7 separate regions of the Homo sapiens genome follow, and all the other regions are linked to region 7. The links are contacts of gene promoters, found by promoter capture Hi-C in blood cells and fetal thymus (Javierre and others, 2016). All regions are on one chromosome and are shown on one strand. Each heading gives the region's core, a stretch centred on a gene start or on the middle of the fragment in contact. The rest is flanking DNA. Distances are from core to core; before and after follow the strand shown. Region 1 overlaps COG6 (component of oligomeric golgi complex 6). Region 2 has its middle 130 kb from the start of MIR4305. Region 3 overlaps COG6 (component of oligomeric golgi complex 6). Region 4 has its middle 120 kb from the start of MIR4305. Region 5 has its middle 98 kb from the start of MIR4305. Region 6 overlaps COG6 (component of oligomeric golgi complex 6). Region 7 holds the start of FOXO1 (forkhead box O1).

What was found. Contacts are between HindIII fragments. The CHiCAGO score rates a contact against its expected background, and 5 or more counts as called.
Region 1: a fragment that was not itself captured here is called in contact with the fragment with the promoter of FOXO1 in region 7 in 6 of 17 cell types (M1 macrophages, erythroblasts, total CD4 T cells and 3 more); the score reaches 7.9 in M1 macrophages.
Region 2: a fragment that was not itself captured here is called in contact with the fragment with the promoter of FOXO1 in region 7 in 2 of 17 cell types (naive CD4 T cells and M1 macrophages); the score reaches 5.9 in naive CD4 T cells.
Region 3: a contact is called between a fragment that was not itself captured here and the fragment with the promoter of FOXO1 in region 7, in 1 of 17 cell types (fetal thymus). The highest score is 7.3, in fetal thymus.
Region 4: a fragment that was not itself captured here is called in contact with the fragment with the promoter of FOXO1 in region 7 in 8 of 17 cell types (naive CD4 T cells, endothelial precursors, total CD4 T cells and 5 more); the score reaches 14.7 in naive CD4 T cells.
Region 5: a contact is called between a fragment that was not itself captured here and the fragment with the promoter of FOXO1 in region 7, in 1 of 17 cell types (total CD4 T cells). The highest score is 5.3, in total CD4 T cells.
Region 6: a contact is called between a fragment that was not itself captured here and the fragment with the promoter of FOXO1 in region 7, in 17 of 17 cell types (naive CD8 T cells, fetal thymus, total CD8 T cells and 14 more). The highest score is 25.3, in naive CD8 T cells.

The regions. Positions count from the first base shown.
Region 1 is chr13:39,706,140-39,709,554 of GRCh38, reverse strand. The region is part of intron 13 of COG6 (component of oligomeric golgi complex 6); the gene reads right to left. Among named protein-coding and RNA genes, the nearest start is that of MIR4305, 44 kb to the right of the region's middle. The HindIII fragment of the contact is 975 bases long and covers 1,153-2,127 here.
Region 2 is chr13:39,796,922-39,800,265 of GRCh38, reverse strand. No RefSeq gene overlaps it. Among named protein-coding and RNA genes, the nearest start is that of MIR4305, 130 kb to the right of the region's middle. The HindIII fragment of the contact is 5,023 bases long and covers 1-3,344 here.
Region 3 is chr13:39,668,935-39,672,648 of GRCh38, reverse strand. The region is part of intron 4 of COG6 (component of oligomeric golgi complex 6); the gene reads right to left. Among named protein-coding and RNA genes, the nearest start is that of MIR4305, 6.7 kb to the right of the region's middle. The HindIII fragment of the contact is 580 bases long and covers 1,920-2,499 here.
Region 4 is chr13:39,778,405-39,782,064 of GRCh38, reverse strand. It overlaps a transcript of COG6 not described here. Among named protein-coding and RNA genes, the nearest start is that of MIR4305, 120 kb to the right of the region's middle. The HindIII fragment of the contact is 1,089 bases long and covers 1,858-2,946 here.
Region 5 is chr13:39,760,249-39,763,989 of GRCh38, reverse strand. It overlaps a transcript of COG6 not described here. Among named protein-coding and RNA genes, the nearest start is that of MIR4305, 98 kb to the right of the region's middle. The HindIII fragment of the contact is 3,599 bases long and covers 550-3,741 here.
Region 6 is chr13:39,684,069-39,687,779 of GRCh38, reverse strand. It overlaps COG6 (component of oligomeric golgi complex 6), which reads right to left. Exons shown (of 19, transcript NM_020751.3): 9 at 149-277; 10 at 1-72. Among named protein-coding and RNA genes, the nearest start is that of MIR4305, 22 kb to the right of the region's middle. The HindIII fragment of the contact is 168 bases long and covers 1,167-1,334 here.
Region 7 is chr13:40,665,179-40,668,858 of GRCh38, reverse strand. It overlaps FOXO1 (forkhead box O1), which reads left to right and starts at 2,218. Exons shown (of 3, transcript NM_002015.4): 1 at 2,218-3,276. The coding sequence starts at 2,647. RefSeq lists an enhancer at 1,330-1,379 and silencers at 2,030-2,559, 2,790-2,929, 3,020-3,069, 3,590-3,680. The HindIII fragment of the contact is 11,472 bases long and covers 1-3,680 here.

The DNA of each region.
Region 1 (3,415 bases), core at 391-2,890, 960 kb after region 7:
AACAAAGTCAAATATTGCATGTTCTTATAAGTGGGAGCTAAATAATGTGTACACATGGACACAGAGTAGAATAATAGACAATGGAGACTCAGACAGGTTGGGAGGGTGGGAGGGGAATGGGGGATGAGAAATTACCTACTGGGTGCAATATACAGTACTCAGGTGATGATTACACTAAAAGCCCAGACTTCACCATTACATAATATATAAATGTAACATGACTGCATTAGTATCTCATAAATTTATAAAAATTAAAAATAAATAAAAGGAAAATGTTAAAAGGAACTATTATGTATGGAACATCCACCAGGAAGTAGGCACAGGCTTAGCAATTAGGCAGACCTGGATATATATTCACCCTTAGTGACTATGTGACCTAGGGCAGGTTAATCTACGTTGACTGTGCCGTAATTCTTTGTTTTACATTTAGTAAAAACTCAATTACATAGTGACAACTTACTGAAAGTCATAATGATTGGAAAAGTTAGAATTTGAGTACAGCTCTATCAGACTCCAAAGCCCAGGATTTCTCCTTGAGCCATATATTGCCTTTCTAATGCGGAGCCCCATCAATTGCTCACCCGAGATAAGTATCCCCAACAAACTCAGACTGAATCTTTAATTTAAGAAAGGCTATACCTGCATCGCAGCACAAAAACCACCTGCAACTACACTACTGGTACTAAGACAACCAATTATTAAATATCAACTTAACTGGAAAAAAACATAAAAGTCTCAGGTAACCTAAGAAATACATATGTAGCTAAGGACAAAGATGACTGAGAAGATTAGCTTCTAAGGCTCTTCTAGTTTTTCAATCTATCAAACATCTGTTGAAGACCTACTATGAGAACATGGTATTAGGTATTGTTATATTTTACCAGACATTACGACACGGATCAAGGCCAAAGGCAAGAAAAATTGAAAGCAAGGAAAATAAAGTAATTTAAACAACACACACACACACAAATTAAACTTGACCCCTACCTTCATACCATACTCAAAAATTTGAGATGGATTGAAGGCCTAAATGTGGAAGCTAAAATAATCAAGCTTCTTAGAGAAAAATACAGAAGAATGTCCTCATGACCTTGAGATAGCCAAAGATTTCTTAAACAGGACACAAAAGGAACTAATCATGAAATAAAAGCTTGTTATACAAGACTGAATTAAAAATTGAGAATTTCTGTTAATCTAATACATGACTAAGAGAGTGAAAAGACAGTTCAAAAAGTGATAGAAAATATCTGTGATGCTTATTATTCCATAAAGGACTTGTATCCAAACACATGTTTGAAAACTCTTATAAGTCAATAAGAAAAAGGTAACAACCCAGTAAGGACTCTCTGCAACAGTCTTTAAAAGACAACTTCAAAAGAAAGTACATCCAGCAGCCAATAAACATGAAAAATTGTTCATCACCATTAATCTTGAGAAAAATGCAAACTACAAGCAAATGAAATACCACCACACACTTTCTACAATGCCTAAAATTAAAAAGACTAACAACATCACGTACTGGAGAGAATGTGGAACAACTGAAACTCCCACATTTCTGGTGAAGTGATCTAGGACAATTACTTTGGAAAAATACTTAGCAATATCTAGTAAAGCTAATCAATCTTATAATCCAGATATTCCATTTCTGGGCATACATACAAGAGAAATAAAAACTTATGTCCACCAACACATGTATAAGACTATTAATAATAGCTTTATTTACAATATCCAAGAACTAGAAACATCCCAAATGTCCATCAGTAACAGAATGAGTAAATTGTGGTGAATATATATAATGAAATTACTACACAACAATTAAAAAATGAACTACTGAACATGCAAAATATATGAATCTTACAGATATGTTAAGTCAGGGCCAAAAAAGTATACACTGTATGAATCTATTTACATGAAGTTAATAGCAGGCAAAACAAGAGACAGTAGTCAGACAGCAGTTTACACCGGGGTTAGATATTGACTGGGAAGGGGAAAGAGGATGCCTTCTGAAGGGCTAGAAATGTTTTATATCTTATCTGGGTGATAGCTAATGAGCATATGCAAATACAAACATTCAACTAACTGTATACTTTAGACTTGGGTACTATATCTGCAGTTAAAAATAAAGCTTGGCTGGGTGCAGTGGCTCATGCCTGTAATCCCAGCACTTTGGAAGGCTGAGGCGGGCGGATCATGAGGTCAAGAGATAGAGACCATCCTGGCCAACATGGTGAAACCCCGTCTCTACTAAAAATACAAAAATTAGCTGGGTGTGGTGGTGCATGCCTGTAGTCCCAGCTACTCAGGAGGCTGAGGCAGGAGAATCACTTGAACCCGGGAGGCAGAAGCTGCAGTGAGCAGAGAGATTGTGCATTACACTCCAGCCTGGTGACAGAGCGAGACTCTGTCTCAAAAAAAAAAAAAAGTGAGCTCATTTGTTCTTCTTCTTCTTTATATTATTGTACATACTAAACATCAAGTCATTATTATTAAATACTTATTTCAAAATTTGAATATTTTCTAAGTGACAAAGTTGAAGTATACAGAAAAATTTCACATTTAAAAGCATTTAAAGGCCAGGCATGGTGGCTCATGCCTGTAATATCAGCACTTTGGGAGGCTGAGGTGGGTGGATTGCTTGAGACCAGGAAATCAAGGCCAGTCTGGCCAACATGGTGAAACCCTGTCTCTACTAAAAATACAAAAATTAGTTGGAGATGGTGGCGGATGCCTGTAACCCCAGCTACTCGGGAGGCTGAGGCAGGAGAATCGCTTGAACCCAGGAGGAGGAGGTTGCAGTGAGCCGAGATCACACCACTGAACTCCAGCCTGGACGACAGAGACAGACTCTGACCCAATCAATTAATCAATCAATAATTTTTTTAAAAAAAGCATTTAAGCTATTGAAAACTTCATATTCCATATATTAGAACCTCTCTTTTTTTAAATGTGTAGAGCTATACACAAAAGTCCTCATTGTTCTTGTGACTATTTACTTTTTATCCCTTCTGTAGTTTAGGTGCTCTGACTTTTACTAGAGAAAAATAAAAAGGTTGCACCATAAAAATTCCAAAAGCTGTTCCTACAACTTCATCCCACTACCAACTTTAGTTTTATTCTTTCAGCTATCTTCCATTTAAGGTCCTATAATTTTCTGTTGTGTAGCTTCTTAGAAGGCCCTTCGCCCATTTGCTTTCAAAAAATAAAGACTAGCCAACCAAACACAAAGTTCTCATATTTTTAAACTAATTTCCTCATTCTCTCTCTATATATATTTAAATATATATATATATATATATATAAAGGAGTATATATATATATAAAGGAGTATATATATATATAAAGGAGTATATATATAAAAGAAGTGTGTGTGTATATACATATATATAAATATATACATTCCTTTTGCTCTAAATAC
Region 2 (3,344 bases), core at 700-3,199, 870 kb after region 7:
AGCACTTTGGGAGGCCAAGGCGGGGTGGGGGAATAACTTGACAGCAGTTCAAGACCATCCTGGGCAACATGGTGAAACCCTATCTCCACTGAAAAAATTAAAAAATTAGGGCCAGGCGTGGTGGCTCATGCCTGTAATCGCAGCAGTTTGGGAGGCCGAGGCGGGTGGATTGCTTGAGGCCAAGAGTTCAAGACCAGCCTGGCCAACATGATGAAACCCTCTCTCTACTAAAAATACAAAAAATTAGCCCTGCATGGTGGCAGGTGCCTGTAATCCCAGCTACTTGGGAGGCTGAGGCAGGAGAATCACTTGAACCTAGGAAGTGGAGGTTGCAGTGAGCCGAGATCACACCATTGCACTCCAGCCTGGGAAACAAGAGCAAAACTCCATCTCAAAAAAAAAAAAAAAAAAAATTTAAGAAGTTAGTTGGATGATTTATGTTCCAGATCCCTGAGGAATCGCCACACTGACTTCCACAATGGCTGAACTAGTTTACAGTCCCACCAACAGTGTAAAAGTGTTCCTATTTCTCCACATCCTCTCCAGCACCTGTTGTTTCCTGACTTTTTAATGATCGCCATTCTAACTGGTGTGAGATGGTATCTCACCGTGGTTTTGATTTGCATTTCTCTGAAGGCCAGTGATGATGAGCATTTTTTCATGTTTTTTGGCTGCATAAATGTCTTCTTTTGAGAAATGTCTGTTCATATCCTTCGCCCACTTTTTGATGAGTTTGTTTTTTTCTTGTAAATTTGTTTGAGTTCATTGTAGATTCTGGATATTAGCCCTTTGTCAGATGAGTAGGTTGCAAAAATTTTTTCCCATTCTGTAGGTTGCCTGTTCACTCTGATGGTAGTTTCTTTTGCTGTGCAGAAGCTCTTTAGTTTAATTATAAATCATGCTGCTATAAAGACACATGCACACGTATGTTTATTGTGGCACTGTTCACAATAGCAAAGACTTGGAACCAACCCAAATGTCCAGCAATGATAGACTGGATTAAGCAAATGTGGCAAATATACACCATGGAATACTATGCAGCCATAAAAAATGATGAGTTCATGTCCTTTGTAGGGACATGGATGAAGCTGGAAACCATCATTCTCAGCAAACTATCGCAAGGACAAAAAAACAAACACTGCATGTTCTCACTCATAGGTGGGAATTGAACAATGAGAGCACATGGACACAGGAAGGGGAACATCACACACCGGGGACTGTTGTGGGGTGGGGGGAGTGGGGAGGGATAGCATTAGGAGATATACCTAATGCTAAATGACAAGTTAATGGGTGCAGCACACCAACATGGCACATGTATACATATGTAACAAACCTGCACGTTGTGCACATGTACCCTAAAACTTAAACTATAATAATAATAAAATAAAATAAATTAGTTGGGCGTGGTGGCACATGCCTGTGTTTCCAGCCTCTAGGGAGGCTGAGGTGGGAGGATTACTTGAGCCTGGGAGGCGGAGGTTGCAGGAAGCCGAGATTACGCCACTGCACTCCAGTCTGGGTCACAGAGTGAGACTCTGTTTCAGGAAAAAAAACACAAAAATCCCACAAACAAACAAAAACCTTACATATTATTTCTTTCTTCTATACTCTTTTCATTACTACTTCTGCTGTTTTCCATGTACCTCCATTTCCAAAAAAAAGATTTCCTAAGTAAAAGTAAAAATACTTGGGATAAGTTATACCCCAAATAAAGCATGGCTGTTTACTAAATATAATAAACCACTTAGGAAAACCATTTTGGTAAACCATTGATTTTTGAAATTTAAATATTGGAATCAAGAAGGAAACAAACCTCCAAGAGGCTACATTCAGGTGAACCTCTCCAGCTTATTTGAGCTCAAACCAAAGTGATAGATTAGCTTAACAACAATCTTTCCAGAAAGTTGTATAGTTTCCCAATTACATTTTATTAGTTTGATTGAAATCTACTCTCTTTTTAACTACTTTTCTTCATTTGTTGAATATGTATTTGTTATGAACTGAATGTTTATATTCTCCTAAATTCATATGTTGAATTCCCAATGTGATGGTATTTGAAGATGGGACTTTTGGGAGACAATTAGGTTTAGATAATATCATGAGGGTGGGGCTTTCATGATGGAATTAATGCCCTTCTAAGAAGAAATATGAGAGCTTGCTCTCTCTCCAAGGCCACCACCTCACCTGCCATGTAAGGACATGGCAATAAGGTGGCCATCTACAAGCCAGCAACAGAGCCATGCTGGTACCTTGGGCTGAGATTTCTAGCCTCCAGGAATGTGAGAAAGTAAATTTCTGTTGTTTAAGCCGCCTAATCCATGGTATTTTGTTATGGCAGCCTGAGCAAATTAAGAAGTATTTACTGAGCACTTTCTATGTGCCCAGTATTGGGGTAAATGCTGAATGTGAAATAAAAGTAAGACACAGTCATTGATCTTAAGAATCAGAGTCTGTCTTGGGCAACTGACATATAAACCAGTAATTTAATACCAAATGATCGGTGCTGCAGTAGGCCAAAACACAGAGCCCTGTGTGAGTACAGAGGAGAAAGCCTTCATATCTGCTATCATCCAGTGGCTCTATTTCATGTTCGAAAATGTCCTTAAGCCTCTTATAATTCAAAAATTCTGAGGTCCTGCCTGCATGATGGTGAGTTTTCATGTTGTGTGTTTGGGACTCATCTCCTATCTTTTAATGCAAGATGCATCAGTGCATGAGTTAATGTCTCTGTATTTTCTTCCCAGTTTGGCATTTGACCAGACTTTGGGATAGTCACACCTCTCCAGCTTTTTGTCAGTTTTTCCATCTGTAAATTGAAATGTTAATATTTATCATAAACTTCTGTACATGGATAAATTAAACAATAGGATAGCGCTCAAAGTGGGAAGGGTAAAAACAAGCAAGAAGATTCGTATTCCATTAAGGTGATAAAAATGATGTAGGGCAATAAATAACAAATAAAATTGATAAGGCTAATTCTCTTAAGTCAGTGCTTGTTAGATTACGATGGGCACATAAAGCACATGCAGCTCTTGTTAAAATGCAGGTTTTGATTCAGAAAATCTGGGATCGTCTCAAGATTCTGTGTTTCTAACAGGCTCCCCAGGTAGGCCGATGCTTCTGCCAGGTAGACTACACTATGAGCAGCAAGATTTCAATGATTTCAGGCCCTACTGTAAGTGCAGGTATAATTTTCATAATTTCTAAATGTTTATTTACTTACCAGAGCCACTAAGGCATCACTTAAGATGGTGGTTCTCAAACTTTTTGGTTTCAGAACCCCTTTTACAATCTTAAAAACTACTGTGGAGCGCTTATATCTACCTGTACTTACCACATTTGAA
Region 3 (3,714 bases), core at 960-3,459, 1.0 Mb after region 7:
AACTAGTGAGCGGGTGAACAAAATGTGGTGTTGCTATACAATGGAATACTATTCAGCCATAAAAAAGGTTAAAGTAACATGGATGAATCTTAAAAGTGTTTATCTATGTGGAAAAAGCTAGTCAAAAAGGGCCACATACTGTATGATCTTATTTGCATGAAAGATTCAGAATAGGCAAATTTAGAGAGGCAGAAAGTAGGTTAATGGTTCACTAAGGCTGGATAACTACTAATGGTCAGGAGTTTTCTTTCTGGGATGGTGAAAATGTTGTAATTCAGATCATAATGATGATTGCACAACTCTGAATATACTAAAACCAATAAACTATATACTTTAATTTTATGATATGTGAATTATATCTCAACAAAGATGTTTTTATAATAAACAAAAAAGGATCTACCTTTTGAATTACAATTACATGTATTATTATAACTGTACAAAATACAGCTTAAAAGGCATCTAATACATTCTTCCAGCTTGATACTTTCCACTCCTTAATAACATTTAGTTAAGTATATATGCACACTTGCTATTACTCTTATAAAGTAAGAGTCTCAAATATTAACAGGCAATGTCAGCTGTAACTATTTAAAATGTTAAAGTAACCATGTAGACATATTCAGTTGAAAAGTTTTCTGTGTAGAAAGGAGTGGGTACAAAGAGCATTAATACACTGCCTTTGCTATCCAGTTAAAATAGTCAAAGACCATAACGTCCAGCACTGTTGAGAAATCATAGGGCAGAAAATAAGTGCTAGAAGAATAATGTGTTGTGGGAGTACAAAGAAGGAACTAATTATTTTTTTTTCTGGTGACTGAGTAAAGGTTCCTGGCTGAACATGGAAAATATATAATAAAACTGTAAAGTACAAAGGTGAAATAAATTTCCTATAAGCTGAAGTATTTTTTAAAGTAAGCAAGACTTTCTTTGAAACATATATAGGTACATACATATATACATTCTCAAGGAACATGTACATGCATGTGTGACACAAACATACACATACATGATAGCCTAAAATTCTTAAGTTTTGTAAAATATTTTGAAATATATGATGGGCATAAACAACAGGGAACCTAAAATGACAAATGAGTTTTCAACAAATTAATTTTGGGAAATGGAATTCCAGGTAGAATGAATAAGAATATAGAAAAAGTCTACCTGGTTGATAAATGTAGTTAAATCAGGAAATAAACAGCAATAGCCACTTTAAATGAAGCGTGCCCACAAAAAAAAAGGAAGAAAAAAAAAAGCTCTTTTGTATTGGTGGGGAAAAAATGTTACGCAAAAAAAAGCTCTTTTTCATTGGTGGGGAAAATTTGATCAGACAAAATTTTCATTTAAAAAAATCCATACCATCTCCAAACCCAACTTTTAAAATACTTAAACCAAAGATTATTTCTAAATTTTTCCTCATACTATTTCCCTTACAGCATGATCATAATCACAAGAAATGGATAAGCCATACTGTGCCTTACCCCCAAATTTTTATTTCCAGTCCAATATGTGTGACTGAAATAAAGTTGTTATAGCTTATCTCAGTCAGGCTCCTGCATGTCACTGGCAATATTTCCTTTTGGATAGCTGCTACTATGTACAAATGAGACAAGAAGAAAGAAGAAAGGAGATGTGATGCTCCCCTGTTTTCCCCTAACCTTTTATTAGGTAATGAAAGAAAATGTGCCACATACGCTTCTGTAATATACTTTTACATGCAATATAAAACCATTTATGCAAGATAAAGTTTTATATTTTTATGCTACCAATTTCAAAACCTGAGTTAAAGTAGTTTACAATGCAATAAAAATAAATTAAAACTATTAAAAACTAAAATAGTAAGAAATAAAGGGAAAGGCTGAGAAAGTAAATCATACATCTGAGGAAAGCTATTGCAATTAAGCACAAAATAGCTCTAAGCTTCCTAGATGACAGAGCAAAAATAGAAATAAGATGAGTGACATAGATTTCTTTGTCTAATAAAAGGGGAGGACTAGGGAGGGGCAACAGTCTTTAATGTATGCCATGCAGTGTCTTCAGCAACTTACGTAAATAATTTAGTTATCTCAAAAACCCCATGACATAGATATTTTCCCCTTCCTTCTTTCAGACATAGAAACTTAGGTTAAGGGAGGTTAAGAAATAACTGTACAAAATCAAAAATCTAATAATCTCTTACCCAAGGTTTCGATTAAGATTCAGATTTTTGTCTTAAGTCCTATATTCTTTCCATTTTAACATACTGAACTTAAAAAAATACACACACATAAACATTCTCCAGAGATTATTTTTCTGAGTCCAGAGAGAATTCTGGCTGGTGGGCCTTTATAAGAGATAATAAAAATATAATAGTGATTTTAGTAGTATTTTAAAAATACAAAGGTATGTTCATGTACATATAGTCTTTCCTGATTATCAGTGAAGCCCATCGTCTGACTACCAATGAACTATTAAGGGGAAATGCTAACCTGCAGTCCTGTGAATAAAATTCTACATTAAGCTTTATCTATTAGAGCATCTCAGCTGTCCTGACGACTGACTTCCTTCTCACTCAGTTGGAAAAATATTCATATCATTCATACATTTGTCTGAATAAAAGTATCGTATTATTCAAATAATCCCATATAGAAACAGATTTCTATTTCTAAAGCTAACTGCTTGTTTAACAAAGTTTCTTGTTAAAAAGATATTTTAAAATGAAAAAACAACTCCCTGCCAGCCCCCAGAGACCTGTTATCATAATTTCTGCCTTGCAATTTTCCTAAAATACATTCACACAAACGTTCACTTGGCACATCATATCTATAGCTCTTGGGATACCAGAATGTCATAAATTTTCACTTCCCAAAAGCATATCAGGCCAAAACACTTCCACAGGCTTACTAAAATAATAAACATAAACCTTGCTTAAATAGTTTTGAGAACACATGAACAGAAGCACAATGTTCTAATATTGTCTCCTATATACATTATTTAGAGCCCCATATTACAAGCTCCAATACAATGCTTATTTTTCAGTTTTATGTTCCTTTCCTAACATTATAGTTGCTTTCCATATTCATTTACTCAAAAATTATTTATTGAATCTGTAAAATAGCAGGCACTGCAAATACAAAAAGGAGAATAAGAAATTGTCATTTTTCTCAAGGAGCTCACAGTTTAGGAGAAACAGAGACAATCAAATCAACGATTAGTTGCAAACAACTGTAATACCTATTACACTAAAAATTAAAACAAAAAGATTTAACTGAGAACAGGAAAAGTTTAAAAAGGCTTTGCATACAGGATTATTGATCTGTTATCCTCTTAGTTTTAATCACAATTTTCAATTAAAGTAATGCTTGTTTTTGTGTTCAGCATTAACTTAGAGAAAAATTAATGTCAAGGTCTCTAACAGGGAATGTGTTTTTCTAGGAAACTTTTCTTTCAAAAGAACTGTTATAAAATGCAATCTAATTTTATGGTGAAGGCACAGGCTTAATTCTGATAAAGAAATTTAACACTGCCTTTCCTCACAGAGCTGGCTGCTTTGCAGAGTCAACCATCTCCCACATGGGCTTAGTCTGCAACTTTTCTCACACTGTCCACCCACCAACAGGACACTATTTGTGGTGATGGAACTGTGTACTATATCGTGACTATGGTGGCGCATTCAGGAATCTACAAATGATAAAATGTATAAAAATAAATACACCAACGAGTAAAACTGCAAAATCT
Region 4 (3,660 bases), core at 1,153-3,652, 890 kb after region 7:
TAGATATTTTCAGATTTAGATTTAAAATCAATGAATGCTATCATCTCCCACTGATTCAGCTGGGAAAGAACAAGTTCACATTGTAAGTTAAGAACCCAAGGGAAAAGGGTTCGAGAAGAGAGGAAATTAGAAAGAAAATTATAAAACAACCAAATATAACAGGTTTAATTTTCTTCCCATAAAGTATTAATTAAAATCATTTGTTAGATTATTTCTAATATTTGTTAAAATTATTTGAAAAATATATTTGGATGTTTGTCACTCAAAGAGTTAAGCCAGGCACCATGGAGGGACTTGGGACTGGTGACCCTGCCAGGTGCTTTTGGTAAAAGGGAGGTAACAATGTGTCTAGTGCATACATATTGTGGGCACACTTCAGCTATTCAAACCCAGACAGAGGAAATGGGGGAATTGGGGTGGGAGAAGGATGGGGCTTAGAAAATGAATAAAAAGAGAAAGTGGCCCAAAACTCTTTGCTGTGGCTCTTCATGCAATGAAAGCCTGCATTGTGTCAAGCTGTGAGTCAAAATAAGAAGGTTATTCAGCGATCACAGCCTGCATCTAAAATATGAAATAGTTCCATTCCAGCCATTTAGTTTCTCATACTAAAAAAAAAAAAAAAACCCTCCGCATTTGCTCCTACTTTTTTCTGCAGCCCACAGTCATTTCATATTTTCAGGGGAAAAACAAATGTTAACTTTTAAAAACCTCTCTTCTCTAACCTGTCAACTGATTTTGCATGTTCCAGTGAATTGGGATGAATGCTTGGACCTAATTTGATGTTTGCCAAAAAAGAGTCCTCCAGCCCTCTAATAAGCGCCCATGTATTATGTGGGTAGCAGCTCTCACCTCCCCTTCTCTTCTCTAAAACAGCTCCCCTCTGCATCCTTGTCCCCACCCCCAGGCCCTTCACCTCCATTTATTTTCCTTGGATGAGAGTCTCACAGTGAATAGGAAACATCTTTAAGAAGGGGAGAGGAGTTGTGAAAGAGATTTAGAGGCCAAATGGGGCTCTTGGAGAAAAAAGAATTCAGAACCGTTGATATAACTCAATGGCATTCATGCAAAGAGTTGCAGAGAGTAATGAACTTTTTACTTAGTTAGCAACAGTTCATCCAATGTCCTAGACTAATTTGAGGCCATTTTCCAAGAAGAAAAGAAAGCTATGCAGTTCACAGCCACGCATCTGTGCACAGTAACGAGAGCCATCGCCTTTCCTCGTGCAGATTTTTGTGCAAGGAAAAGACTAGCTCTTATCTTTGTTTCTCTGCCCGGGTCCTTGTGTGGCATTTTTTCATATGACTAAACACAAGGGGAAATTAAATGGCTCATATTCCATTCTGAAGGGTAAGTTTTGCCTGAAAAATTATGTGCTATAACTTGAAAATAATATTCTATGTCCAGATGCCCTCAGACCTCCCTAAATAATAGGAGTGTTTATAAAACATACAAGCATTTATCCTAAAGCCAAGTCTTCTATTAAGTTGGCTGAAAGTGTAATACGTTGAGAACCCATGGGGTTTCTTTTGTCATTTCTTCCATATTATTATGGATATTAGGCCAAAAATAGTATTTTTTACTTCTTGTATTAATAAATTAATAAATTACTTCACCCCAGACATTGTCTTTGAATAGAAGGGACATTTCTTTCAGGGAAGGGTCAGCTGCCAGGGCATGCATGCCTGAGGGTAACATTTAGACTACTGGTGGTCTTGCCTTCCTTGGTGCCAGCCATCATGTTGCTTTATATATTCAAAAGCAAAGTTCTGAACATTTAAATTTAATTTGGTCAGATATCAGGAGTTGGGATATTCTGATCCTATCAAACATCTTCTTTTCCCTTTTTGAAAGCAAGCTTGTTGGTGTGACGGCTGTACTTGAGAAAAGTAGGCAAAAAAGTAGATTTTGGTTTCTAGTTCGAACTCAATGCATTTGTAAGTCAAAAATTCAAAACTCTTTTCTCAGTCAATTTCCTGACACATGTTCTTGGAATGTCACTGTGGACTTTGACTGGAGCAGATAGCAATTATTTTCTTTAAGTCCTGCATGGGTTAAAATTCTATTCATTCTTCATCCATCAGCAAGTTTCTTCCAATTTAAGAAATACTGTGACTTGCCTAGAGTAGGTGCCTAATAAATGTTTCTTAATTTTATTTAATCTAGGATAATATCTCTATGGACTATTTGGTAGCCAGATTCTTGAGCATTCTTGTAACGTTTGTTCATGATACCTCAATTCTCAGAGGTGAAATTGAGGTGAATGATGCTGAAGTGATTTCTGGCCCTGGGTCCCCTTCCTGTGATGTCAGAGACACAGCTTTCTGAGGTGACTTTAGGACAGAACCCTGGAGAGGTCTTCGTTCAATGAAGCCACGTTAAGAATCTGAAAGGATCTATTCAAGGGTTCCTGAATTGCTCCTCATGCCTGCAGCTGAGATTTATGCCTCTGATTTCAGCAGGACCCTGGGTGCCATTTGGTCTTTCTCATCTCCATGATGTTGAACCTGAGAAGTCACATAGCCTGGCTGGCACTTTTCCAGACCACTTCCTCTGATGAGAAAAGAAAAACAAGGCTTTGTGACACAGAAGAATGCATGCTGCCTGTCCTGGATCTGCAGCCTAGGCAAAACAGTATCCAGGTTCTGCAAAGCCCAATAGGATGATGTGGAGATAACACCGTTGCTTATAGGAATGATCGATTTAAGAGACACACGTGACTGATGCCAGCATCTTTTGTTCTTGTCTCTGGATTAGCTCTATCACAGGTCAAACAGACTTAGAATAGAATTAGTAATCAGCATCATTGCTAATCTTACTGAAAGCACTTACCATACACCCTGCACTGTTTTAAGCTCTTTACATTGATTTATTTTATCCTTACAACTCTATAAAGCAGATACTAATGTCATTTCTATTTTACTGGTGAAAAAATTGGAGCATAAAGCTTTTAAATAGATTGCTCAAGGTCACGCAGTGTGACAGTTTACAGTAGCATGCAAATTTTTTGACACTCCTCTCTTCAAAAAGTGGAGTATAATTTTCCTTCTCCCTTGATTTGAACCAGACTTAGAGACTCAATTCTAATAAAAAGCATATGGTGGAAGTGAGGGCATATGCTTCTTAGGCTAGGATGTAAGACACTACTCCTTCTACCTGGCATTCTCATGGATTTCTCACTTTCAAGGAAGCCAGGCATCATGTGGTGAAGACTCTCAGGCAGCCTGTGTGGAGGCCCACAAGGGGAGGACCAAAACCAGACCAACGTGTCAGCCATGTGGATAAGCCACCCTGGCAGTGGCTCCCCTCCTGCCCCAGTCAAGCCTTCAGATGACAACAACCATGATAGCCCCTGAGGCAAAACTGCCCAACTATGCCACTTCTGAATCTCTGACTTAGAGAAACTGTGAAATAATATTGTTTTAAATAACTAAGTTTGAATAATTTGTTCTGTTTTCACAGATAACTAATACAGCTTCTAAGTGGCAAAGTCAAGATACCAATCCAGGGGGGTCTGAAGGCAGAATCTACACGTTACTGCTATATCCTCTCCTGATACTAAGGAGATTATCAATAAGCTCACATTCTGGCAATACATGTTCAGTAAATGTTTTATCTAAGCTGCAGCAAATTCTGATGTGTTTTTAGACACTTAGAAATCAA
Region 5 (3,741 bases), core at 1,100-3,599, 900 kb after region 7:
AAAGAAGTAATAACAATCTTACATTCTTCCAGATAACAGAGAGAATATGTACCAATTTGTTTTATGAGGCCAGTATTATCCTGTTATCAAAACCTGACAAAGACCTTTAAACAAAGGAAAATTACAGGGCAATCTTTCTCATGAACAAAGATGTAAAAATCCTAAATGAAGTGTTATCATATAAAATAAAAAGATATATAAAAAGGATAGTACATTATGACCACTGGGTTTATTTCAGAAATGCAAGGCTGATGTTTGAAATTCTCCATATTAAGTAAGTAAAAGGGGGGAGGCACAGATATCAATTCTCCCCAAATTGATACTTAGAGTCAAAGTAATCCCAACCACATTCCCAACAGTTGTTGAAGAAATATAGGTGGATTCTCTATTATTTTTCTGTATTGATCTCTAAATAGATACAGAAAAAAAATTGATAAAATTCAATACTTATTTGTTATTTAAAATAATCATGACACACCAGGAACAGAAAGGAACTTTCTTAATTTGATAAAGCTTATCTACAAAATACCTATCTAACAATTGAAAGCTTCCTCTCCTTCCCCACATTTTGGAAAAAGACAAGGGTGACCGCAATTACCATTTCTATTCAACTTTGTAACACTGTAAATGGTTAAACATTATGTAGTGCCACATAGCAAGAAACGATAAAAAGGTAGAAAGAAAACTGTCACTAATTATATAGATTGTGTGCTTGCCAATTTAGAAAATACAAAATAATACACAAATAACGCTTACAATTAATAAGTAAATTTAGCAAGGTTGCTACTAAATATACAAAAACATACAAAACTAAATCCAGTGATTTATACAGAAAGGGAAAATAATATGATCAACTTAGGCTTATTTTGGGAATGCAAGAGTGATTTAATGCCAGGAAAATTATAAATATAATTCATCACATTAACAAATAAAGGAGAAAAGCCAAGTGATCATCTCAATAGATTCTGAAAGTCACTTAAAATTCAACGTCCATTCATAATTAATAACAGCATGTGAGAATACAAAATAACTTCCTCTCTGATAAAGATTATCTGCTGAAAACTTAGAGCAAGTATAATTCTTTATGGTGAGATACTGAAATCTGAATTAAGAAAAGTAACCATTATCATTGCTATTAGTTAACATTCTGCTGGAGGTTCTAGCCAGCATAAAAGAAAAGAAAAAGAAATAAAGGGTACATAGGCTTCAAAGAAAAAAAAAAAAAAAACTCTTATTTTGTCTCAAATAGATCTATATAGAGAAAACTCAAAGAAAAATCACGGAAAATAATATTATGAAGGTGCCTCGATCTATTATAATCAACATATAAAATCAATTCCACTTATTTTTTAATTGTACTTATTTATGGGGTACAGTGTGATATTTTGATACATGTATCCATGTGTAATGATCTAACAGGGTAATCAGCATGTCCATCACCTCAAATGTTTATCATTTCTGTAAGACACATTCAAAATCTTCTAGCTACTTGAAAATATACAATAGATTGTTGTTAATTACAGTCACCCTACAGTGCTATAGAACACTAGAACTTATTTCTACTATTTAGCTGTACTTTTGTATCCATTAACCAACCTCTGACTATCCCCACTCCCATCTCCTTACATGTCCCTGCCTCTAGTATCAATTATTCTACTTTCTACTTCTATGAGATCAATGTTTTTATCTTTCACCTGAGTGAGAACATGCAGTATTTATATTTCTGTGCCTGGCTTATTTCACTAAATATACAATGTCCTCCAAGTTATCCATGTTGGCACAAATGAGATAATTTTGTTATTTTTTATGGCTAAATAGTATTCCACTGCGTATATATGCCACATTTTCTTTATCTACTCATCTGTTAAAGGACACAAGTTGATTCCATATCTTGGCTATTGTGAATAGTGCTGCAATAAACATTGGAGTAAAAATAAAATGTCTCTTCAACATATCCATAATTCCCTTTAGATATATACCCAGTAGTGAGATTGCTGGATCATATGGTAGTTCTATTTTTAGTTTTTAGAGGAATCTCTATACTGTTTTCCATAGTGGCTGGACTAATTTACAACAGCATATGCATTCCCATTTCTGTGCATTCTTGTCAACATTTGTTATTTTTTCTCTTTTTGATAATAGCCAAAATGAGATAATATCTCATTGTGGTATTGGTTTGCATTTCCCTGATGATTAGCGGTGTTCAGCATTTTTTTTTTTTTCATATACCTGTTGGCCACTTGCGTCTGGTTTTCAGAGATGTTTATTTGGCTCTTTCGCCCATTTTTAAAATTGGATATTTTTGTTGTTGTTGCTCAGTTGTTTGAGGTCCTTGTATGTTCTAAATATTAATCCCTTGTCAGATGAATAGTTTGCAAATATCTTCTGAAGGTTGTCTCTTCACTCTATTGATTATTTCTTTTACTGTGCTGAATCTTTTTAGTTTGATATAATCCTATTTGTCCATTTTTGCTTTTGTTGCCTATGCTTTTGAGGTTTTCTCCATAAAATCTTCACCCAGGCCAGGGTACTGAAGTGTTTCCCATATGTTTTCTTCTAGTAGTTTCATACTTTCAGGTCTTACATTTAAGTCTTTTATCCATTAGGGGTCTAGTTTCACTTTCTGCATATGAATATCAGTTTGCAACTGCTGTACATAGAAGTCAATTCCATTTCTATATACAGCAACAAATAAGTTTAAGTGTAACTTAAGAATAGATATCATTTACAAAACAAGAACTATAAATTTCTTAGGAATAAACACCAAAGTTTTCTTAGATCTATATGAAGAAAATTACAGTGTTTTTGAAGGACATTAAAACTACCCTAATAAGGAAATTTTGACATGCTGTGATTTGGATTAATCTTATAAAGATATCAATTCTCCTCAAATTGATACATAGAGTTGAAGTAATCCCAACCATATTCCCAATAGCTGTTGAAGAAATATAAGTGGATTCTCTATTATACTGACAAATTTACATTGCTATTTGTGGAACAGCAGAAAGCCAAGAATGGCTAAGGCACTCTAGATGAAAAAAAGAAAATGAAGCACTGTGCCATATATTGAGACTTTCTATAAAGTTATAATAATGGCATTCGTTGTTGGTGCAGGAATGAATAAACCTATAAAAAGAGTGCAGTAAAAATACATAAATTTATTCACATATGGGAATTTGATGTATGACAGAGATGGTACTAGCCTTCCCCCACCATTATCACACACAGAAAGAAGGAAGCAATACTAATTCTGCACCATTCCCCAAAGACCTGAGGTTACAAAGAGCAACACTAGAGCTAATGATTTACCACTTGCAGAGAGTCTTTTGGTAAATCATAGTAGTGTGTTTGCACATTTTTTGGTTAATGCAAATTCTATTATGGTTTGTTATTGTATGATTCATTATATTAACCTATTAATAGTTCAGTGGAGAAATTATTTTCTTTTTTGTAAGATTTAGAATAAAGGCAGGGTACATTGAGATGTTCTTTCTGTTTTTGTGGTTTATTTTCTTTTTTAGCAGCACCTTTTTGGCTTTTTAATGCTTGGCTTGCTTATATCTTTGTCTGTAAAAGAATCTAATAGTTTAAAGCAAGAAAAATTCCTAGTCTGCAATTAAATACGTATGGCAACTATGTGGAATACTAATCAAATCTTTGGTGTCCTTTCTAAGGTAAATTCATTTTTCTACCTCAGTTCAATCTTCATTATCATTTTACATTCCACTGGAGGCCCAGCTA
Region 6 (3,711 bases), core at 1-2,500, 980 kb after region 7:
AAGAGAGCTTCAAGGTGTTCCTTTTCAGAAGCAGTAGCTTGATGGAGCCAAGCCAACATATCTCCTACATACCTAATGAAAACTAAATGTTAATGAAGATTTCCTTTGGAAAAACATCAACTCCTCTTCTGCTGTCTGATTACTATACCTCAAAGGGTCATGAGAATGCATTTCAATTGGTCTAGGTGTACCTCCGGGGCCCCCTCTTGTGAGCGCATCAATAAATCCACGAACAACTGTACTTCTTCTGGCTGTTCCAAATTCATCTAAGGTATATCTAGAAGAAACAAGTTATATAAAAAATGGTTGGGGTTGTTTCTAGTGGCTATATCAGACTATTCACGCAATTTCTGAGACAACCAAGTACTTAAAAAGCACTTAAAGCTCCTTTAGATATTCGGTCAAGCAACATTGCTTTCAAACAAGAAAAAAATATTTAAGAGATAACTTCAGCTCATTGAAAATTCAATCAAAAAGTAAAAACTTTTACCCCTCCTAAGAAACAATGCTGGGATTTGGGACTAAAGCAGAGGCAGCAGTAATAAGGGATAAAGCAATGGACTTAGTAAAAGTAGGAAAATCAAGCCAAGGTGGGAAGACTTAACTTTTTAGGTTTCAGTATATTCACTATACTAGGTTTCGGTATATTTCAGTATACATATTTGCAGTCTAAAACATGATGCTCTACTGTTTTACGTAAAGCCATAACAGTTCTCAAAAACTGATTATAATTAGAACTCTGCAAATCCAAGGCTGGGTGCGGTGGTTCACACCTGCAATCCTAGCACTTTAGGAGGCCGAGGAAGGTGGTCACTGGAGCCCAGGAGTTTGAGACCAGCCTGGGCAAAATAATGAAACCCTTTCTCATTATTAAAAAAAAAAAATAGCCAGGCATGGTGGTGCATGCCTATAGTCCCAGCTACTCGGAAGGCTGAGGTAGGGGGATCACTTGAGCCCGTGAGGTTCAGGCTGCAGTTAGCAGTGACTGCTCCACTATACTCCAGCCTGAGCCACAGAGCAAGACCCTGTCTCAGAAAAAATAAAAGAATTCTGCAATCCCAAAATTGACATTTTTCTCTTCTACATTAAAAAAGTCTTCTTTACACATACTATCACAATCTATCACCAAAATTTGCTCCAAAAATTGCTATCCATCTTTAAAAGCTTATTTTGACTCCAATATTAGACATAACAGATGTTCCTTAAATTTACTGACCAAACACATATACAAGCAAATACCTTTTTAAAAAACATGTATTAAGAAGTCACCTATTATAATTGAAAAGGCATGGAAAGGCTTTCTAAGGTGAAGGAACTGGTAGGGAAGGAAAGCTTTTAACTGGGGAATAGGACAATTTGGGATTCAATTTATAAAAATGGCCTGGAGCTCTCTGGAGTGCCCATTTCTTTGACTTGACTCAGCCTTGTTTTCCATTATCACCACCATTCCTGACATCCATCCCTCAATTGAAAGTTCTTTCCATTTTAAAAGTATAAAGAAAAACAAAATATATTTTAGCAGTCTTGATGTCAGCAGATTCTAGACTAACTTTTAAATCTCTAAACAGTATTCTACCATACTAAATTTTAAGAATTATGTCAATAACCTATATATAAACAAAAATTACCAAAACTTCCCAAGATACCCAAAATAATTAATATCTTAGGCTACATAGCTTTCTTTCATATGCTGTTAATTGGATGAAAAATCCACATTTTGGTAAACATGTGAAAGACGGTTTATTTCCAAATCAAAGAGAAAGTCTGTAGAACTGGCAAATAGCTATAAATATTTAGGAATATGAACCTTTTTTGAGGACTGTTTACTATTAACCAGACTATGGTTCTTTGTGGGTTTGTCTTCCATTAAAAAGAAATGGTTTTGAGATTCCCTGTGGTGACATACTACAGAAAAGGGGAAGTGCAATATCCAGCTAAGTTTTGCTAAATTGCATAATTGCCTTGCATTTACTATTTTTTAAACAAATTAGAACCAAAATGCTCATTGCTATTTTTTCCCTCATGCTCTTAAATTATTAATCCATTTAGTGTGAAGAATGCCTTCTTTTAAATGATCACCTGATTCTCTGAAATAATGAACTTATGACTGCTTATCACAGCATAAAATTCACAAACGTTTAACTTTTTAAGTATATATAGCTAATCCTCATTCCCAAGACCCTACTAACTATATTAAAAATAAACAGCATAATTTGTTTCTAGGACTGTCCACTGGGACGACAGCTGTAACAGAATCCAGTGAATCTTAAAATCCAGTGTATTTTAAATAGGGGGTAAATTACCAAGCCTGGCAAACACTGGAATTTCATCTGTTCAATACTATAAAATATCAATAAACATTAATATTAATGTCAATCCTCCTATAGAACAAATATAATTTAAAGCAAAAACAGCATAAGCCACGTGAACCTTCAATATCTTTAGACATGAAACATCCTTCCCAGAGACAGAAGAAAAAGTCTTTGACCAAAATCAGACATTCTTCCAACAATAATCAAAAATCAAAATGGAGCTTTTTCAGAGTGAATGTTCAAATTATGTAAATATTCTCAAATACCTCAAGTTAAAATTAAAAGTCTCATTTTAAAAATTGTGTTTAGCTACAGTTAAAGAAATTCTGGTCAAAAAGCAAATTAAAAGAAGAAAAATTTTTATCAAAAAGCAAATTAAAAGATAATAGTAAAGAAGTGCCTCTTTGAAACACAACAAATACATAAAGAAGGAAGAAAAATCAGCATTGTATGTATTACTACATTTTAAAATAACTTATATTCTAAAGGCTTACCAAAGAAAATAAATTATCAAATTTTTTCACTTCATTTATAATTGTACATGATTTATTATTAAAAGTCAATAATGCATTAGCATTCCAGTTATACACCACATAAGAAACACTGAGTATGGCAACTTTCCCCACGGATTTCAATAATTGACATTTTTCTTGTATATAATACTTACATTATTTGAGACACAATAATGGACAGTGAAACTTTTATACATTACTTATTAAGTTCATATAGTGCCATCTGGTGGTTAACATGATACATTATTAAGTTTTCCCTAAATGTAAGGAAACTACCACTTTGAAAATAATTACTTAATGAAAGGCCAATTTTCTCTTTTTTAGCATTCATCTTGTTCTAATCATCTGGTCTTAAAAACTTACTTTCCTACTCAACTTCTAAATGTGTCTTAAAATCTTCCAAATTGGCCAGGCGCGGTGGCTCACGCCTGTAATCCCAGCACTTTGGGAGGCCGAGGCGGGTGGATCACGAGGTCAGGAGATCGAGACCATCCTGGCTAACACGGTGAAACCCCGTCTCTACTAAAAAATACAAAAAATTAGCCGGGCGAGGTGGCGGGCGCCTGTAGTCCCAGCTACTCGGGAGGCTGAGGCAGGAGAATGGCGTGAACCCCAGGGGGCGGAGCCTGCAGTGAGCCGAGATTGCGTCACTGCACTCCAGCCTGGGCGACAGCTAGACTCCGTCTCAAAAAAAAAAAAAAAAAAAAAAAAATCTTCCAAATTGCCATTACTGCCCCCTGCTTCTTAGCATATGCCCTTCACAGATAAACCTTCTTTGCCTATTATAGTTCCATTCTTTATCTTTCAAGCTTTTTCCCAGATTGCCATGTAGCCCTCAGATACATCCCTCCTTAGTTGAAAACTTTCTAGTCATCTCCTCTCAAAAT
Region 7 (3,680 bases), core at 969-3,468:
AGGGACATTGGTGTTATAGGTTCTCTGTGCCTGCCTCGTCAATTTTTTTAAAGAAAGACCAAATAAAAGTAAACTATGACATTTGAAGAAACAATTGGGCAGGAGAGCCTCAAAGATTTCAAGGATTTGGGGAAAGTCTGTAGGAAGACTCCTTTAACCAAATAAATATTCTCTGACGCCCTGAAAAACCGGAATAGAAATGAAGGCAAGGCCAAATTTGAAGCTGGCTTCCTTTGCCAAGAATGATCCAGTAGGGCACCGCCTATTTTTAGGGTGCGGCTGTCTGGATCGGGGGCTGCTTCTGCAGAGTGTAATTGGAAAGGTGGGGGGAAGCAACAGCTGTACTTTGGGGGCCTGCCTTTGAGCTCATCATCTGAGTTACTGAGGTCCCCTAGCGGCTGTCAGAGGAGGCCCAGACTGTCCAAATTTGATAGTAAACGTGAAGAGACCACAAGACCAGGGTGGGAACCAGTCCCCGCCCGTCCCCAATCCATCCGGCTCACGCTCCCCACCCCACCCATGCCTAGTATCAGCAAGAAGCTGTTGTGATAAATAGATTATGAAGAAACAGGAGCCCGGACTAGAGAGACGATAGTGAGAATATAAAAGAAGAAAGATAATCTCTCTCAATCTTTTTAACTTTTGTAAGAGGCCTAATTTTTCCTTTTTTCCCCTCTTTTCTCTTTTATTTTTTCAACAACCTCTTGTCCAACTGACTAATTTTCTCTAGATGCCACTTTTTCCATTGCAGAATTACTTGTAAGAAAGAAAGGGATTAAAAAACAAGAGTTGGAAGCTGTCCTTTTGGACAAGATATTTAAAACCCTACTGTCCATCTTCCATCCTAAGTGGTCCCATCTTTCTAAAAGGAAATGCCTTCCATATTCTTCCTAAAAAAGCAAAAGCATAACAAAACAAAACTGGAAAACTGTTTCTTCTGCTTGAGACACAAGGGCCATTATCTTCCCACCTTTGGCCCCACTGATCCTTGACAGGATGTCCTGGACCTGCAGCCCAGATGAGGAAAGGTGGGGTGTGGGTGGGGGGTTGACTGACACACACAGCAAGTAGCCTCAAGGAATTTGGGGGTGGGGCAGGCTGCGCCCCAAGGCTTTGGTCCTATCTCCCGCCCCCCTTGCGTTTTTACTTAACACCCGATCACTTCCGTTGCAAATAAAAAAGAAGTAACAAACAGCTAAATTTAATTAGGGATAAGTAATAAAATGACCTGGTTCTCTCTAACTGCGCTCCTGAGCCCTTCGCTGCCGGCCCTGGACTTAGTGGACGGAGCGGGAGATTCCCGCCCAGGGGAAGAGGTTCCCACGGAGGGCATGCGGTCGCGGGTGCCTTTGGATTCGTGTGTTCAGGGAGGCCAGATAATCTCCTCCCCGCGCCGGAGCCCCTGTTCCTCATTTCTAGCATTTTAAAAAAGGTCAAGAATACAGTGAATCCGGCTGGGGGCTGCCGGCTGGGTGACGCGCCTCTGGCTAGACCGAATGGCACAGGCTGAGCCCGGGGGTGCGGACCGGTGGGCACGGAGAAGGGTCCCTCGGCGCGGACTCGACTGCAGGAGCCGCGGCGCCGGGGGTGGGGGGCGTGTGCCGCTCGCGAGGGGGCCGGAGGACTTGACAGATCGCAGCGAAAGAAAACATTAAACCAAAACAAAACCCACCGATTCCCCACGTCGTTCAGCAAAGACATCGTGGGTGGAGCCAGGAGGGAGCGATTGAGTAGAATTCCTCGCGGCCGCCTCCGCCCGCCCACCCCGCGCCCCCGGCCCTCGGCCCCCTGCCCTGCCAGCCCGCCGGGCTCGGCCCGCAGCGGAGGTCAGGGAGCAGCGAGCGCCTCCTCCCACCCGGGCTTCCCGAGTACTCGGCTCTGCTGCTCCGTAGTAAACAAAGTGTCGCCGGCGCCTCCACGCTGGTTTGCTTCCTAGCAATCAAAACACTGAGAAGGCGAGAGAATCACAGAAACACTCGAGAATTACCAGAAAATAATAGAGATCCAAAAAAAAAAAAAGGAGGTGAGTGTGTGAAAGAGAAAAACACCCCACTACCCCCCACCAGCCCACCGCCGCCTCCCCGTGGAAAACCGGGCCCCACCCAGCCCGGCGCCCACTGGCTGCCCGGGCGGCGGTGCCGCATGCCCATTGGCCGCGCGGGCTGTCGGTCAGGGGCGGGCCGGCGCGCGCGCCGCCGCGGGCGGGGGGCGGCGGCAGATCCCGTAAGTCGGGCGGCCTGGTAGTCGCAGCAGCCGCTGCCGCAGCCGCCACATTCAACAGGCAGCAGCGCAGCGGGCGCGCCGCTGGGGAGAGCAAGCGGCCCGCGGCGTCCGTCCGTCCTTCCGTCCGCGGCCCTGTCAGCTGGAGCGCGGCGCAGGCTCTGCCCCGGCCCGGCGGCTCTGGCCGGCCGTCCAGTCCGTGCGGCGGACCCCGAGGAGCCTCGATGTGGATGGCCCCGCGAAGTTAAGTTCTGGGCTCGCGCTTCCACTCCGCCGCGCCTTCCTCCCAGTTTCCGTCCGCTCGCCGCACCGGCTTCGTTCCCCCAAATCTCGGACCGTCCCTTCGCGCCCCCTCCCCGTCCGCCCCCAGTGCTGCGTTCTCCCCCTCTTGGCTCTCCTGCGGCTGGGGGAGGGGCGGGGGTCACCATGGCCGAGGCGCCTCAGGTGGTGGAGATCGACCCGGACTTCGAGCCGCTGCCCCGGCCGCGCTCGTGCACCTGGCCGCTGCCCAGGCCGGAGTTTAGCCAGTCCAACTCGGCCACCTCCAGCCCGGCGCCGTCGGGCAGCGCGGCTGCCAACCCCGACGCCGCGGCGGGCCTGCCCTCGGCCTCGGCTGCCGCTGTCAGCGCCGACTTCATGAGCAACCTGAGCTTGCTGGAGGAGAGCGAGGACTTCCCGCAGGCGCCCGGCTCCGTGGCGGCGGCGGTGGCGGCGGCGGCCGCCGCGGCCGCCACCGGGGGGCTGTGCGGGGACTTCCAGGGCCCGGAGGCGGGCTGCCTGCACCCAGCGCCACCGCAGCCCCCGCCGCCCGGGCCGCTGTCGCAGCACCCGCCGGTGCCCCCCGCCGCCGCTGGGCCGCTCGCGGGGCAGCCGCGCAAGAGCAGCTCGTCCCGCCGCAACGCGTGGGGCAACCTGTCCTACGCCGACCTCATCACCAAGGCCATCGAGAGCTCGGCGGAGAAGCGGCTCACGCTGTCGCAGATCTACGAGTGGATGGTCAAGAGCGTGCCCTACTTCAAGGATAAGGGTGACAGCAACAGCTCGGCGGGCTGGAAGGTGAGTGGACTCGGCGCGCGGCCGGACCTTGGGGGCGCGGTGGGTCAGGCGAGGGCGCAGCTGTGCAGGTTTGCTCGGCCTGAAGGTGCGGAGCAGGAGGGCAGCGCGTTCCCAGGAGGGCGGGCGAGAAGCGGTGGTCGCGGTGGCCTCGCCCGGGTCCGGTCGGGGACGGCAGTAGGTGTGCGTGCGCGCCAGTCAGGAGTTCGCGTGGGACGCGGTAAGGGGCTCGTTGGGGAACTAAGTAAAGAAAGTGCGCCAAGAAGTGGACGTCAGAGCGAGGCCGAAAAGTTTGCCAGTGAAAGGAGAAAGGGGTTCGCTGGGAGCGGCAACCCCCGGCCCGCGCCGACTGCTTCGGCTGCCCCTTCCCTCCCGGACCTCCGCGGGGGGAGGGCGGGTTCTCTCCG